Linked DNA regions of Homo sapiens: region 2 is linked to region 1. Evidence: promoter capture Hi-C in human tissues and cell types (Jung and others, 2019). All regions are on one chromosome and are shown on one strand. Each heading gives the region's core, a stretch centred on a gene start or on the middle of the fragment in contact. The rest is flanking DNA. Distances are from core to core; before and after follow the strand shown.

The links. The method cuts DNA at HindIII sites, captures the fragments that hold promoters and counts their contacts. A contact is called where the count stands out against the background at its distance.
Region 2: a fragment that was not itself captured here is called in contact with the fragment with the promoter of XKR8 in region 1 in 1 of the 25 tissues and cell types used here (mesenchymal stem cells).

Annotation. Positions count from the first base shown.
Region 1 is chr1:27,956,029-27,962,559 of GRCh38, reverse strand. XKR8 (XK related 8) reads right to left here and starts at 2,587. Exons shown (of 3, transcript NM_018053.4): 1 at 2,198-2,587. The coding sequence starts at 2,490. It overlaps SMPDL3B (sphingomyelin phosphodiesterase acid like 3B), which reads right to left. Exons shown (of 8, transcript NM_014474.4): 7 at 6,478-6,531; 8 at 3,408-4,084. The coding sequence ends at 3,722. RefSeq lists an enhancer at 2,083-2,646 and a silencer at 2,327-2,716. The HindIII fragment of the contact is 22,893 bases long and covers 1-5,956 here.
Region 2 is chr1:28,161,342-28,168,226 of GRCh38, reverse strand. All of the region lies in intron 1 of PTAFR (platelet activating factor receptor), which reads left to right. Among named protein-coding and RNA genes, the nearest start is that of PTAFR, 12 kb to the left of the region's middle. The HindIII fragment of the contact is 3,366 bases long and covers 3,117-6,482 here.

The DNA.
Region 1 (6,531 bases), core at 1,338-3,837:
CGCTTGTCGCCCAGGCTAGAGTGCAGTGGCACAAACTCGGCTCACTGCAACCTCCACCTCCCAGGTTCAAGCGATTCTCCTGCCTCGGCCTCCAGAGTAGCTGGGATGCTGGGATTACAGGCATGCGCCACCACACCTGGCTAATTTTTGTAGAGATGAGCTTTTGCCATGTTCAGCAGGCTGGTCTCAAACTCCTGACCTCAAGTGATCCACCCACGTCAGCCTCCCAGACTGCTAGGATTACAGGCATGAGCCACCAAGCCTGACCAGACCCTACCTCTTTTTAAAAAACAAACAAAAAATTATAAGCAGCTAATAAGTACTGGAATGAGGATTTGGATCCAAACCTGAATTGGAAAGGCATGCTATAAAGTTGCCTGAGGCAGTAGTTCTCAAACTTTAGTGTGCCCAAGATCTCCTGGGGTCCTGTGGGCAAGAGGACATTTGCCTCTTGGGCACTTCTGGGCACAGGCCAGATGGAATCAGACTCTGCCTTGCCCCGGCCACACAGGGGAGGGGCTGGAGGAGGGTTAGATTGGAAGGAGGGATCCCATTTAAGAGGCTGGCCCTGAGTGGTTAAGGATGGAGATTGGGGCGGAGTTAAGAGAGTCCAGAGTTTGGACAGACAGGTCTGGGGTACCCACTGGCATGAAGAGTAAGTGGAGGATGCACCAAGGACCCTCCACCCAGAACTTTGCTCTCAGTTGCCTATTGGGAGAGAACCCCGTTCACTCATCACAAGCTCATTCACCAGACATGTACTGTCACTTCCCCTGGAAGGACACAAGAACACACTGAGGAGCAGGCAGGCAGGACAGGCTGGGGTTCTCCCTCAGCAGGAGCCTTTGCCTATGGTCCCCAGTGACCTAGCAGGGACCCCTGCCTCGGCCAATTCACAGGCAGGAACAGAGACCCATTTCCAAAGCCAAAGCTAGTACAGTCTGTCTGACTCAAGCTCAGCAGAAATATTGGCCACAAAGATGCATAAGGTAGTTACAGATTCACGGCTCATGGAGGCCTGCCCAGGACTTAACAACTGCACCCCTTCATGCCCACCCGGGGTTTTCTGATGTCTCTATAATCCCTCAGGCAAAACTGCCACATTCAAAGCTCCTCTCTTCCACTCCTGGAGACTCCGTGTGGCTTTGTCAAGGCCAGATCTCAAGAGTTTGTAAAAACGGATTCAAGAGCAGATCCTGGCCCTGGCCACCCCATCCCAACCCACACCACCCTCTGCCCTGACTTTGTCGCATGCCTCTGAGCCTTGGGTTTGTTTTCCCATCTCTACGAGGCTCCACCAGGTCCAAAAAGGAGCAGAATCCACACACATTTTCCAGGACCCAGCCTATGCCCAGCCCTGGCTGGCTCCATGGGCATGGATGAGTCAGAGGCCATCTCTGCCCTCTTGCTGGGTCTGGGGTGGGAAGCCAAGTTTCAGGGGGAAGAATACAACCAGGCAGACAGGGTGAGAGGCGGCCTTTGTGAGGGGCAAGCGCTGTGGTGGGGTCAGGGCTGCTGAAACTCCCAGGGAGGCCCAGGTCAAGAAGCCAGCTGAGGTTGCTGAGTGCTCACTCTGAGCCAGGGCAGTGGACAGATGTCATTTCACTGCATCTTCACCAAACGGGCAGGCGCTATCCCCATCCCAATGGGAACAGCAACCAAACAGCCCCACTGAGAGGTCAGTGACTTCCCAAGGCCCTGCCCATGCTGAAACATGGGATGCTGAACTGAGTCCGCAGCCCCTGCCATTACAGGCCAGGCACTGTGCGAGGCACTTTCTCATTCTTTCGCTCACTCTTCACAACAGGCCTGCCCGTCACACCTGTCTCAGGGTGACTACCTCCTTTCTACGCAGGAGGAAACTGAGGCTCAGAGAAATGCAGAAGTGAGGCGAGAGGGGGCAAAGCCAGAAGTGGATCCCTGAGAGGTCCGACTTCAAAGCCCATGCGCCTCCCTTTCTTCCCTGGGCCTCAGTTTCTTCGCCTGTGCCAGGAAAGCTAGGGCTAGAATGAAGGCAGTCTACCGGGATTCCCTTTCCGTAAAGGGCTGCACGCTCACCTGTAGGCCAGGCGCCCACAGGACTTGGTTCCCTCTCCCAGTCCCCTTCCCGGCATATGGCGTGTCACCTGTACAGGTGACCCAGCTGACGGAGGTGCTGGGCTCCGACACTCCTCCCCTCCCGGGGCGAAGCACTCACCTGTACAGGTAACCCAGCTGCAGGAGATGCAGCAGCGCCAGGCAGCGGCGCGGGGGCTGCGACCCGTGCAGGCCGGCAGGGTCAGCGCGCAGCCAGAGCCAGCTGAAGAGCTGCAGCGCCACGGAGGCCAGGCCCAGCAGCGCCAGCACCAGCGCCGCCCACAGGTAGCGGCCGCCGAGCGCATACTGGACGGCGGCCCACAGGTCGGTGCCCAGGTCGAGCAGGAAGGCGGCGGTGCCCAGCACGCCCAGGACCAGGTCCCGAAGGAGGGCGCCGCGGGACGACCAGGGCATGGCCCGCCGGCCTCCGCCCTCTCCTGCTCCTCCGCGGTTGGGGCCTGCCCTCAGGGCCCGGGGTTGCCGAGGCAGGAAGGAGGTGGGCGCAGCCCTCGGGGCGGCCCGGGGCCTGGGCCTGGTGGGCGGGACTTCCCCGTCCCGCCCCGTCCGGGGAGGAGCGAGGCCCGCGGTTGTCCCAGGTCCTCCGCCCGAACCCCAGCTAAAAGCCGCTCGATGCTCTGCTCCCGCCGCCAGCCCAGGGGTCCACCGACCCAGCCCAGCCAAGCCCGCTAGGCCTGAAGACCGACTGCCCTTCGCTTCGCAGGCTTCAAATGGCCTAGTTTTACCTTTGAGGCGCCCGGAGGCCCAAGAAAGCGAGAGGGCGGGGAGACTAGAGCCTGGACCAGGGCTGCGATCCCTCACACCTGTATTGTTGCAAAACAAAACGAAACGCAAAGGCACATTCTAATCCCTAAGTGCGAGACTTTGCAACAACGCGTGCGCCTCGATCCAGGGATACCCGGAGAGCACGGGGCCGCTGGGTTCACGCCAGCGATCCGAGTCGGGGGAGGGCGGGCGTTAGGTTCCTGCAAATGAGTTAACCTCATTTCCATACGGAAGGGAATAGAGGCCGGGCGCGGTGACTCACGCCTGTAATCCCAACACTTTGGGAGGCCCAGGCGGGCGGATCACCTGAGGTCAGGAGTTCGAGACCAGCCTGGCAAACATGGCGAAACCCCGTCTCTACTAAAAATACAAATTAGTCGGGCGTGTTGGCGCGCGCCTGTAGTCCCAGCTAGGAGGCTGAGGCAGGAGAATCGCTTGAACCCGGGAGGCAGAGGTTGCAGAGAGCCGAGATAGCGCCACTGCACTCCGGCCTGGGCGACAGAGCGAGACTCCGTCTCAAAAGAAAAGAAAAGGAACACAACACAGAATCAAACGCATGATGAGCTTTGTTTTGTGAGTTAAACATAATACGCAAAAGAAGTATGCTTGTAGGGGGGTCTTGGGTCGTCATTTCTTTTCTGTTTCTGGTTTGTTTTTGGAGAGAGTCTGGCTTTGTCACCCAGGCTGGAGTGCAGTGGCGCGATCACGGATGGCTGCAGCTCCTGGGGCTTCGCTTCCTGATTCGGTTGTCCTATTTCAGTTCACTCCTCAGGCGCGGAGGAAATGGTGGAAGGCCCAGCTCTGGGTGATCCTGGGCGCTGCCCCCGTTACCCGTTACCAGGAAGAAGGTGAGCCTGGCAGGTCACAGCACGAGCGTGCACAGGCCCAGCAGGGCCATCAGCAGCAGCGGGAGCTGGGGCACGGGCGTGGTGCCAGAGGCATACAGACAGGTGGTGTAAGCGTCAATGTCCACCTGGCGCATGGCACACACGTGCTGCATGCTGCAGGCCTCGTCGCAGACCCCAGCAGAGTAGCTGACTGAGTTATAGACGTAGTAGCGCTGCAGTGTGCTCTGGTCGCCAGCGATGCGGTCCAGCACTGTGTGCATGGAGTGGGCGCTGGCGTCCGGCACCCCATAGGCCTCGGTCAGCTGGTACTCGAGCTCCCAGCGCGGCGTCCCCTGAGCATTCGCCTGGCTCAGGTTCATGAAGTAGGTCACCATGTCCTGGAAAAAGGGTTTGGGGTAGACCGGCTGTGAGCAGTTGTCTGCTTCCATCCCCATCCTGCACCTTGCATTTGCCCCCAAGTTCTTTAGAGCAGTGACCATGACCACTAGTAGTTATTGAGCACTTAGCTGTGCACCCATTGTGCTTGGCAGACATCCTCTGAATCGAATGAGGTAACTGCGCTTATTACCTAGGTTTCACAAATGAGGAAACTGAGGCCTAAAGAGGTTAATTCACTTGGCCAGGGTCATACAGGTATTCATACAGGTATTCAGTGGTAGCAGGATTGGACCCCAGGTTTACCCCAGGTCCCACCATGCTAGGGTACACATAGAAGACGCTCAGTAAATATTTACATAATGAATAGATAAAAGCAACATAAAAAGAGCAACACTAAGCATGAGAGAGATTATGAACTGTAGACTCCTAGGACCCAGGTGCATGTTCACGGCTAGACTCTGCAGGGTTCATCAGTCCAGCGGGTTCCAGGTACATTTATGAACCTGCTTCAGGCCACTGCAGACGGGGTAAGAGGAGCTGCCCGTATGCATGGCCACTCTGTGCCAGGAACATTCCATTATTTCATGTAGTCCTCCTCAAACCCTGCGAGGTTCTGTTACTCCCATTTTACAGATGAAGCAAGTGAGGCACAGAGGTCAAAAGATCAAAAAGCTTATGAGTGGTGGAGCCAGGATTCAAGCTCAGGGCTGACTCCCTCCCTGAGGAGAATGGAGGGCCTGTTAGGGGGTGATGGTGCAGCCTGCCATTCCCCTTGCTCAGACCCTTGGAGTGCCCATGTGGACAACAGGCCACTCTTTAAACCCCTCAGACCTCTTCTTAATCTACCTTTACTAGAATCAAGGACCTGGGTTAGCTCATGCAGTCGTTGGCTTTAAATGTCCTCTCTCCACTCCCAGATCACATCTCTATCCTCACCTCTTCAAGCTCCAACTTGCCCCTTCCCTGTCCACTTTCACTTGATGCCATTTAGCCCTCCCAAAGGTAACAGGTCCAAAACAAGACCTCTGACTGACCCTCCGAAGCCTGATCACCCTGCCACTTATCTCAGTAATCGGCAGCCACAGCCTACCGTTGCACAGGCCAAGAGCCTTGGAAGCCTCCTGGATTCGTCCCTTTTTCTCACAGCTCATATCCACTCTAGCAAATCCTGCATCCAGAATTCATCTGGGACCTGGCACTTTTCACCATCTCACTGCCTCCACCCTGGGCAAGCTACTATCCTGTCATCTGGGATTTGTCCTTCCCTCCAAACGGCCTCACTGCTCCCCCACCTGCCCCTACAGCCTGTTCCCTGCACAGCAGACATGATGATTCCATAAAATTATAAGTCACAGGATTTCATTCTTCTGCGCAAAACCCTCCAAATCCAGAGTCCTCATGGAGGCCTGCAAGATCGGACCTCCCCTCCCACTCTCCCCTTGTGCCTCTTACTGTGGCCACATGGCCTCCGTGCTCTTCCCCTAACCTACCACGCACATTCCCACCCCGGGGCCTTTGACTTGCTGTTCCCTCCACCTCCCCAAGATACCCACTGGGCTCCCTCCCTCAATACACTCAGAACTCAAATGGCACCTTATGTGGACACTTCCCCTTCCCACCTATCTAACACAGTACACACCTCCCATAGCTGTCACCCTGTCGCCTCACTGTTTTGATTTTCTCCTTAGCCCTTCTCTCAGTACTATAATTAATTCTACATATTTATTGTCCCTCTCCTGTAAGATGTCAGGTCCAGGAGAGGGGTGACTTTGTTTTTAAATTTACATATCTTCTGAGATTAGAACAGGGCCTGGCCAATGGCACACACTTAATGCATTTTGTTGGATAAATAAAGGAATAATATTTTTCATCTCAACAACCACAAGCTCATCCTACGAGGTGAGGGACTGCCCAAAGAATTAGGGGCTGGAGCCTCGTCTGTGTACGGAAAATGTGGACAATGGGCTTGAAGTCAGACTGTGGGAAGCCTTGAGTACTAGGTCAAGGAGACACAACTTTATCTTGAAGGCACTGGGGAGCCACTGAAGGTTTTTGAGCAGGACGGAGACAAGATGAAAGTGGTGCTATAGGAGATTAGTTTCTTCTCTCTTGTGTAGCGGATGGGCCATAGCAGGGCAGGGCCAGAGGCAGGGAGACCAGGTATGAAGCTGTGACAGTCATCCAGGGGAAAAGGTGACTTGGTGAGGCACTGCCCTGACTCGGTGGCAGGTGCCTCCAGGGTTCTGATCCTGAGCTGGAGAAGGGTGGAAGGAGCTCAACCTTCCTGAGGCTCAGTGGTCAGGGGAAGGTGGATAAGCTGAGAGTGAGGGAAGGTGGTGATGCATTTAAGCCCCTCCCACCCTCCTCCTCTGGCCTCCGCAGGACTCCTGACCTTCAGGCTCAGTGTGGCTCGGTCATATTCGAACACCCGGATGGCTGGATTGTT
Region 2 (6,885 bases), core at 3,550-6,049, 200 kb before region 1:
GGCCGAGGAGGGCGGATCACGAGGTCAGCAGATTGAGACCATCCTGGCTAACACGGTGAAACCCCTTCTCTACTAAAAATACAAAAAAAAAAAAAAAAAAATTAGCCGGGTGTGGTGGCGGGCACCTGTAGTCCCAGCTACTCGGGAGACTGAGGCGGGAGAATGGCGTGAACCCGGGAGGCGGAGCTTGCAGCGAGCCGAGATTGCGCCACTGCACTCCAGCCTGCGCTACAGAGCGAGACTCCATCTCAAAAAAAAAAAAAAAAAAAAAAAAAAGATCTGGTTTTCAGTTGGGCGTGGTGGTTCATCCCTGTAATCCCAGCACTTTGAGAGGCCAAGGTGGGCGGATCACTTGAGGTCAGGCGTTAGAGACCAGCTTGGCCAACATGGCGAAACCTCGTCTCTACTAAACGTACAAAAATTAGCCGGGCGAGGTGGCGGGTGCCTGTAGTCCCAGCTACTAGGGAGGCTGAGAACCGCTTGAACGCGGGAGGCGGAGGTTGCAGTGAACCAAGATCGTGCCACTGCACTCCAGCCTGGGCGACAGAGTAAGGCTCCATCTCAAAAAAAAAAAAAAAAAAAAAAAAAAAAAATCCCGTTTTCAGTTCTTTTGAATATATAGTATACCCAGAGCGGAACTGTTGGGTCATATAATCATTCTAATTTTAGTTTTTTGAGGAGCTTCTATACTCTTTTCCATAGTGGCTGCACCGTTTTGGAATCCCACGAACACTATGCGAAAGTTCCAATTTCTCACATCCTTGCTGACACATTTCTGTTTTACTGATAGTGGCCATTCCAGTGGGTTTGAGGTGATATTGCATTATGGTTTCAATTTGCATTTCTCTGATGATCAGTGATATTGAGCCATCTTTTCACATGTTTATGGTCATTGGTATATCGTCTTTGGAGAAATGTCTATTCAGGTTCTTTGCCCATTTTTTAAATTGAATTTTTTGTTATTGTTGTTACTGAGTTGTAGGAGTTCTGCATATTAACCCCTTATCTGATATCTGGTTCCATCCGAAAGGTTGCCTTTTCTCCCATCCACAGGTTGCCTTTCCACTCTGCTGATTGTTTTCCTTTGCTTCATGGAGATTATTTAAAGTTTGCCAAAAAATAGTTTATTTGTGCTTTCGTTGCCTGTGCTTTTGGTGTCATATCCAGGAAATTATGACCCATTCCAATGTCATGAGGCTTTTTATTGTTTTTAATGTAAATAACTAATTAATTAATTTTTTTGTTGTTTAGAGACAGAGTCTCCCTCTGTTGCCTAGGCTGGAGTACAGTGGCATGATCATAGCTCACTTCAGCCTTGAGCTCCTGGGCTCAAGGTATCCTCCTGTCTCAGCCTCTGAATAGCTGAGACTACAGGTGCATGCCATCGTGCTCAGCTAATTTTTTAAATTTTGTGTAGAAACAAGATCTTGCTACGTTGCCCAGGCTGATCCCAAACTCCTGGCTTCAAGCAATCCTCCTACCTAGGCCTCTCAAAGTTCTGGGATTACAGGCATGAGCCACTGTATCTGGCCTGTTGTGAAGCTTTTTTTTTTTTTGAGATGGAGTCTTGCTCTGTTTCCCAGGCTGGAGTGCAATGGCACGATCTTGGCTCACTGCAACCTCCGCCTCCCTGGTCCAAGTGATTCTCGTGCCTCAGCCTCCCGAGTAGCTGGGATTACAGGCACCCGCCATCATGCCTGGCTACTTTTTGTATTTTTGTAGAGACGGGATTTCACCATGTTGGCCAGGCTGGTCTTCAACTCCTGACCTCAGGTGATCTGCCCACCTTAGCCCCACAAAGTGCTGGGATTACAGGCGTGAACCACCACACCCCGCCAAGAAGCTTTTATCCTATGTTTTCTTTGAGGAGTTTTATAGTTTCAGGTCTTATGTTTAGGTCTTTAATCCATTTTAAGTTAATTTTTGTATAATATATGGTGTAAGATAAGAGCCCATCTTCATTCTTCTGCATGTGGATATCCATCTTTCCCAGCACTTTTCGTTGAAGGGACTATTCTTTCCCCATTGTGTAATCATGGTCCTCTTGTCAAAGATTATTTGACTATGTATGTGAGGGTTTATTTTGGGTCTCTCTATTCTGTCCCATTGATCTATGTGTCTGTCTTTATGCCAGTCCAAACCATTTTGATTATTGTAGCTTTGTAATATGTTTTGAAATCAGGAGTTGTCTTTCAGTTTTGTTCTTCTTTCTCAAGATTGTTTTGACTATTTGTTGTCCTTTGAGGTTTCATATGAATTTTACAATTTTTAAAAAATTTCTGTAAAAATTACACTGGGATTTTGGTAGAATGGCATTGAACCTGTAGATCACTTTGGGTGGTATGGACATTTTAATAATATTAAGTCTTCCAATCCATGAACTTGGGATGTCTTTCCATTTATTTGTGTCATCTTCAATTTCTTTCAGCAATTTTTTTTTTTCCTAGACAGAGTCTCGCTCTGTCACCCAGGCTGGAGTGCAGTGGCACGATCTCGGCTCACTGTAAGCTCCGCCTCCTGGGTTCATGCCATTCTCCTGCCTCAGCCTCCCGAGTAGCTGGGACTACAGGCGCCTGCCACCACGCCTGGCTAATTTTTTGTATTTTTAGTAGAGACGGGGTTTCACTGTGTTAGCCAGGATGGTCTCGATCTCCTGACCTCGTGATCCGCCTGTCTCGGCCTCTCAAAGTGCTGGGATTACAGGCGTGAGGCACCGCGCCTGACCTTCAGCAATGTTTTGTAGTTTTCAATGTACAAGTCTTTTGCCTCCTTGGTTAAGTTTGTTTCTTTTTTTTTTTTCCTTTTTTTTTTTTTTTTTTTTTTGAGACAGAGTCTTGCTCTGTCGCCCAGGCTGGAGTGCAGTGGCATGATCTTGGCTCACTGCAGCCTCCGCCTCCCGGTTCAAGTGATTCTCCTGGCTCAGCCTCCTGAGTAGCTGGGACTACAGGCATGCGCCACCACGCCCAGCTAATTTTTGTATTTTTAGTAGAGATGGGGTTTCACCATGTTAGCCAGGCTGGTCTCAAACTCCTGAACTCAAGTGATCTGCCTGCCTCAGCCTCCCGGAGTGCTGGGATTATTATAGGCATGAGCCATCGTGCCTGGCTGGTTAAGTTTATTTCTAAGTATGTTATTTTTTTTGAATACTGTTGTAAATAAGATTGTTTTCTTAATATCCTTTTCTCTTAGTCCATATAAAAATCTTCATTTACAAATGAGGAAACAGAGACTCAGAATCACAGGATGAGCTTAGTGGTTGAACCAGGATCTGACCCAGCTCTCGCCCTACCAGGCGGGAGTCAGATGGATACAGAGCAGGTCATGCCATCCCTTTGTCGCATTCCCTTCCCAGCTTTGAGGAACAAAGGTAAAAGCAGGGCCCCAGGTCAAAGGCATCTCTTCCTGGGGCCTCACAGCATCTGGAGCTCCCATTCTCAGGCTGTAAGACAGGTCTGTGAGTGGACAAGCTGGCCAAGGAGCAGTTTGCTTCTAGCAGGGGACACAGCTTGTTCTAGGAGAGTCAGAATGAACCTTGGAGTTCAAAATCCCAAGTCTGCCACTTCCCCGCTGTGTGACTATGGACAAATCTATTTTCTTCTCTAGTCTCACTTTTTACCCCTAGAAAATTAGGTATCTTGTAAAACCAGCCTCACGAAGATGATCTGAGGAGGAAATATGATCATAGGCAAGATGTACTGTATACCAGTAAATGGTGCCCAGTGTCTTGAAATTAGGGGGGCTCCAGCCTCATGATCCCCACAGAGCAAGGAGTACTTGGATCCAAGAGAGTGTGCCCACTTGGAATGTGGTGTTCCCCCGCCTTCACCACTTCTAGTCCTTGCCCTGTTGGTGAATGCACCCTCAGGCCTGCGGGGCTGCAAGGAACTGCTGGTGCAGGAGCTGTGGATGAACTTGGATGTATCTTATTTATAGCTTATAAATATTTAGAATTTTGTACTTTTGACCTCAACTGGCCCCACAAATGTTAAGAGCTAGCAGGACTGGTGAACCCAACTTCCCAACCCACAATCTGGCCTGGGAAATCAACCAGCACATACCTCCTTCTGTCCATCTCCCGATGGTCCCTCCTCTCTGGCTGTCCAGCTATGGATGAGAACCCCTTCTCCAGGTTCCCTAGGGACTGGGAATGTTTCCAGCAGGGATGAGGGCCGAATGCTGCACAGGGAAAAGGGTACCAGATCCAGACAGCAGAATTCTTCTGTCTCATGAATATTTATGGCCTCTCTACCCCACCCCCAGCTGAAGGCTGTGCCTGGGCCAGCTGCCCAGCCTCGATCCATCAGGGAACTGTGCCCATGTGTTAAACTGAGTGGTCTGAGCCTCTTCTTTTCTTTCCAAATGTTCATCCTCTTCCTGAGCTGTTGAAAGCTTTGTTGCCATTAGCTGGAGGCTCTATCTGGAGCTGGCAGGAAAGCCAGTGTGTAGGTCAAAGCCCCTAGGTCAATGTTGGCCCACAGTCCCCTCCCCTGGCTCCAAGCAGCTGGGCCAGTGGGGAGAGGGAGGCTTGGTCATTTGTGGCTCAGGTCCTGTTCCAGCCACTTTGCATACTTATCTTTGAAACCATTGTTAGGATTGTAAGATTTTGCAAATGAAGACATTGAAGGTTAGAGAGGCGAGGTCACTTGCCCCAGGTCATACAGCAAGTAAATGGTAAGCCAGGTATGAACCTGTAGACCTTTCTGACTCCAGAGACCTTGTTCTCCCTAACCCACTCCACCCCAGTACAGCTCCCCTGGGGAGACTGTGCACACTTCCTTTGTGCCGGGGATTTCGGAGCCATCATCAGGGCATGGCCACTCATCCATTCATTCCTCGGTGCCCGACACTGGGATTGAAGAGATGAAAAAGATCTAGTCCCTGCCCTCAGGAAGTGCCCAGTCTGACAAGGAAACAGCCACAGAAATTAATACTTAAAACATACTGTATCAGGTGCTAGACTGAGGAATGCGCCCAGTGCATAGGGACCCAGAGAAGAAGGCAACTCATTTTGCCTGTGGCGATCAGGGAAGGCATCCCAGAGGAAGTGCTTTTTCAGATTAGGTCTTAAGATGAGTAAGATTTTTCTAGGTAAAGCAATAGGCAAAAGCAGGCTGCTGGAAAGGCAAAGAGATTTGAGGAAAAATGGAGTTTTTAGGGAAGCAGCGAGAAATTCAGTGCAGCAAGAGTAGAAAATGAGTAGCGGGGAATGGTGGAAAATAAGATGGGAAAGGAGCTTAGACTTGATCCTGGGCCAGGGGAGCCACGGAAGATGTTAGCCCAGGCAAGTGTGTGGCTGGCAGTTGTTGGGGTACAACATGTCTCAGATTTCGGTGCGTGCACGAATCGCCTGGGAATCTTATTAACATATGGAGTCTTTTTTTTTTTTTTTTTTTTTTTGGAGACAAAGTCTCGCTCTGTCGCCCAGGCTGGAGTGCAGTGGTGTGATCTTGGCTCACTGCAACCTCTGTCTCCTGGGTTCAAGCAATTATTCTCCTGCCTCAGCCTCCAGAGTAGCTGGGATTACAGGCACCCACCACCATGCCTGGCTAATTTTTGTAGTTTTATTAGAGAGGGGGTTTCATTATGTTGGTCAGGCTGGTCTCGAACTCCTGACCTCAAGTGATCCACCTGCCTCAGCCTCCCAAACTGCTGGGATGACAGGCGTGAGCCACCATGCCCGGCCAACATACAGATTCTGATACAGGAGATCTGGGGTGGGACCCAAGATTCTGCATTTCTAACAAGCTTGCAGGTGGTGCCAATGCTGCTCGTCCAAGGACCACAGTTTGAGTCCTGAGTTTGTAGAGGGCTCACTCTGCCTTGTGTGGCAGCTGCTCTGTCTGGGGAGTAGGCAATCCTGTCGGTTGCTGGGTGTTTGTTCACCTGACAAATGTTTACCAAACTTTTGCCCCAGCCAAGCTCCCTGAGTACAGGGGACGGGGAGAGGAATTGAAAATGCCACTTTCTGGTCCATGCCACCACCATCTCTGACCTCCAAAATGCTCTTGCTGTTTCCACGCTTGCTCCCTACCATCTATTCTCTACCTGACAGCTAGAGCGAGTCCGATCATGTTACTTGCCTGCTTAGCGACACTGAAGCAGCTCTCCGAGGCTCACAGAATAAAATCCCAACTCCTTACCATGGCTCAGGAGTGATCTGCAGCCAGGTGTCCTCTGATCACATCCCACTCTTCCCATTTCTCACTCCCCTAGGGCCACACCAACCTTTCAGTTTCTTGTTCCTACTTCAGAACATGATGAAATTATTCCCATTACAGGCCCTTTGCACATGATACTCTCTGGCTGGAATAATCCAGATCGTCCTCTTACTTGTTCCTTTTTTCTTTTTTAGAGTTCAGCCAGGGGTAGACACAGATTTTATAGGTTACTAAAGCTTATACAATTTGAAGGGCCCCCCTTTGAAGATACCAAATTACAAATATACAATTAGATACAGGGCCTAGGAGAGGGCCTTAAAGCTTAAGCTTCATTGACTTCATGGTAAAGCTGTCTGTGGTTTTGTTTGTATGTCACCTCCTCCAAGAAGCCTTTCCTGGTCATTCTACTTAAAACAGCCACCAGCTGGGTGCAGTGGCTCATGCCTGTAATCCTAGCACTTTGGGAGACTAAATCAGGCAGATCACTTGAGCTCAGGAGTTCAAGACCAACCTGGGCAACATAGTGAGACCTTGTCTCTATTTATTAAAAAATAAAAATAAAAAAAAAGCCATCTACCCTATCTTCATGTTACTATTTTTATTTCCTTCATTAAATTCATCACAATTTGAAATTATCTTATTTGTTGCTCCACTTATTTTTGACTGTTTCCCCCAACTAGAATGTAAGCTCCTCGAGAGCAGGAACTTTGTTTTGTTTCTGCAGTCT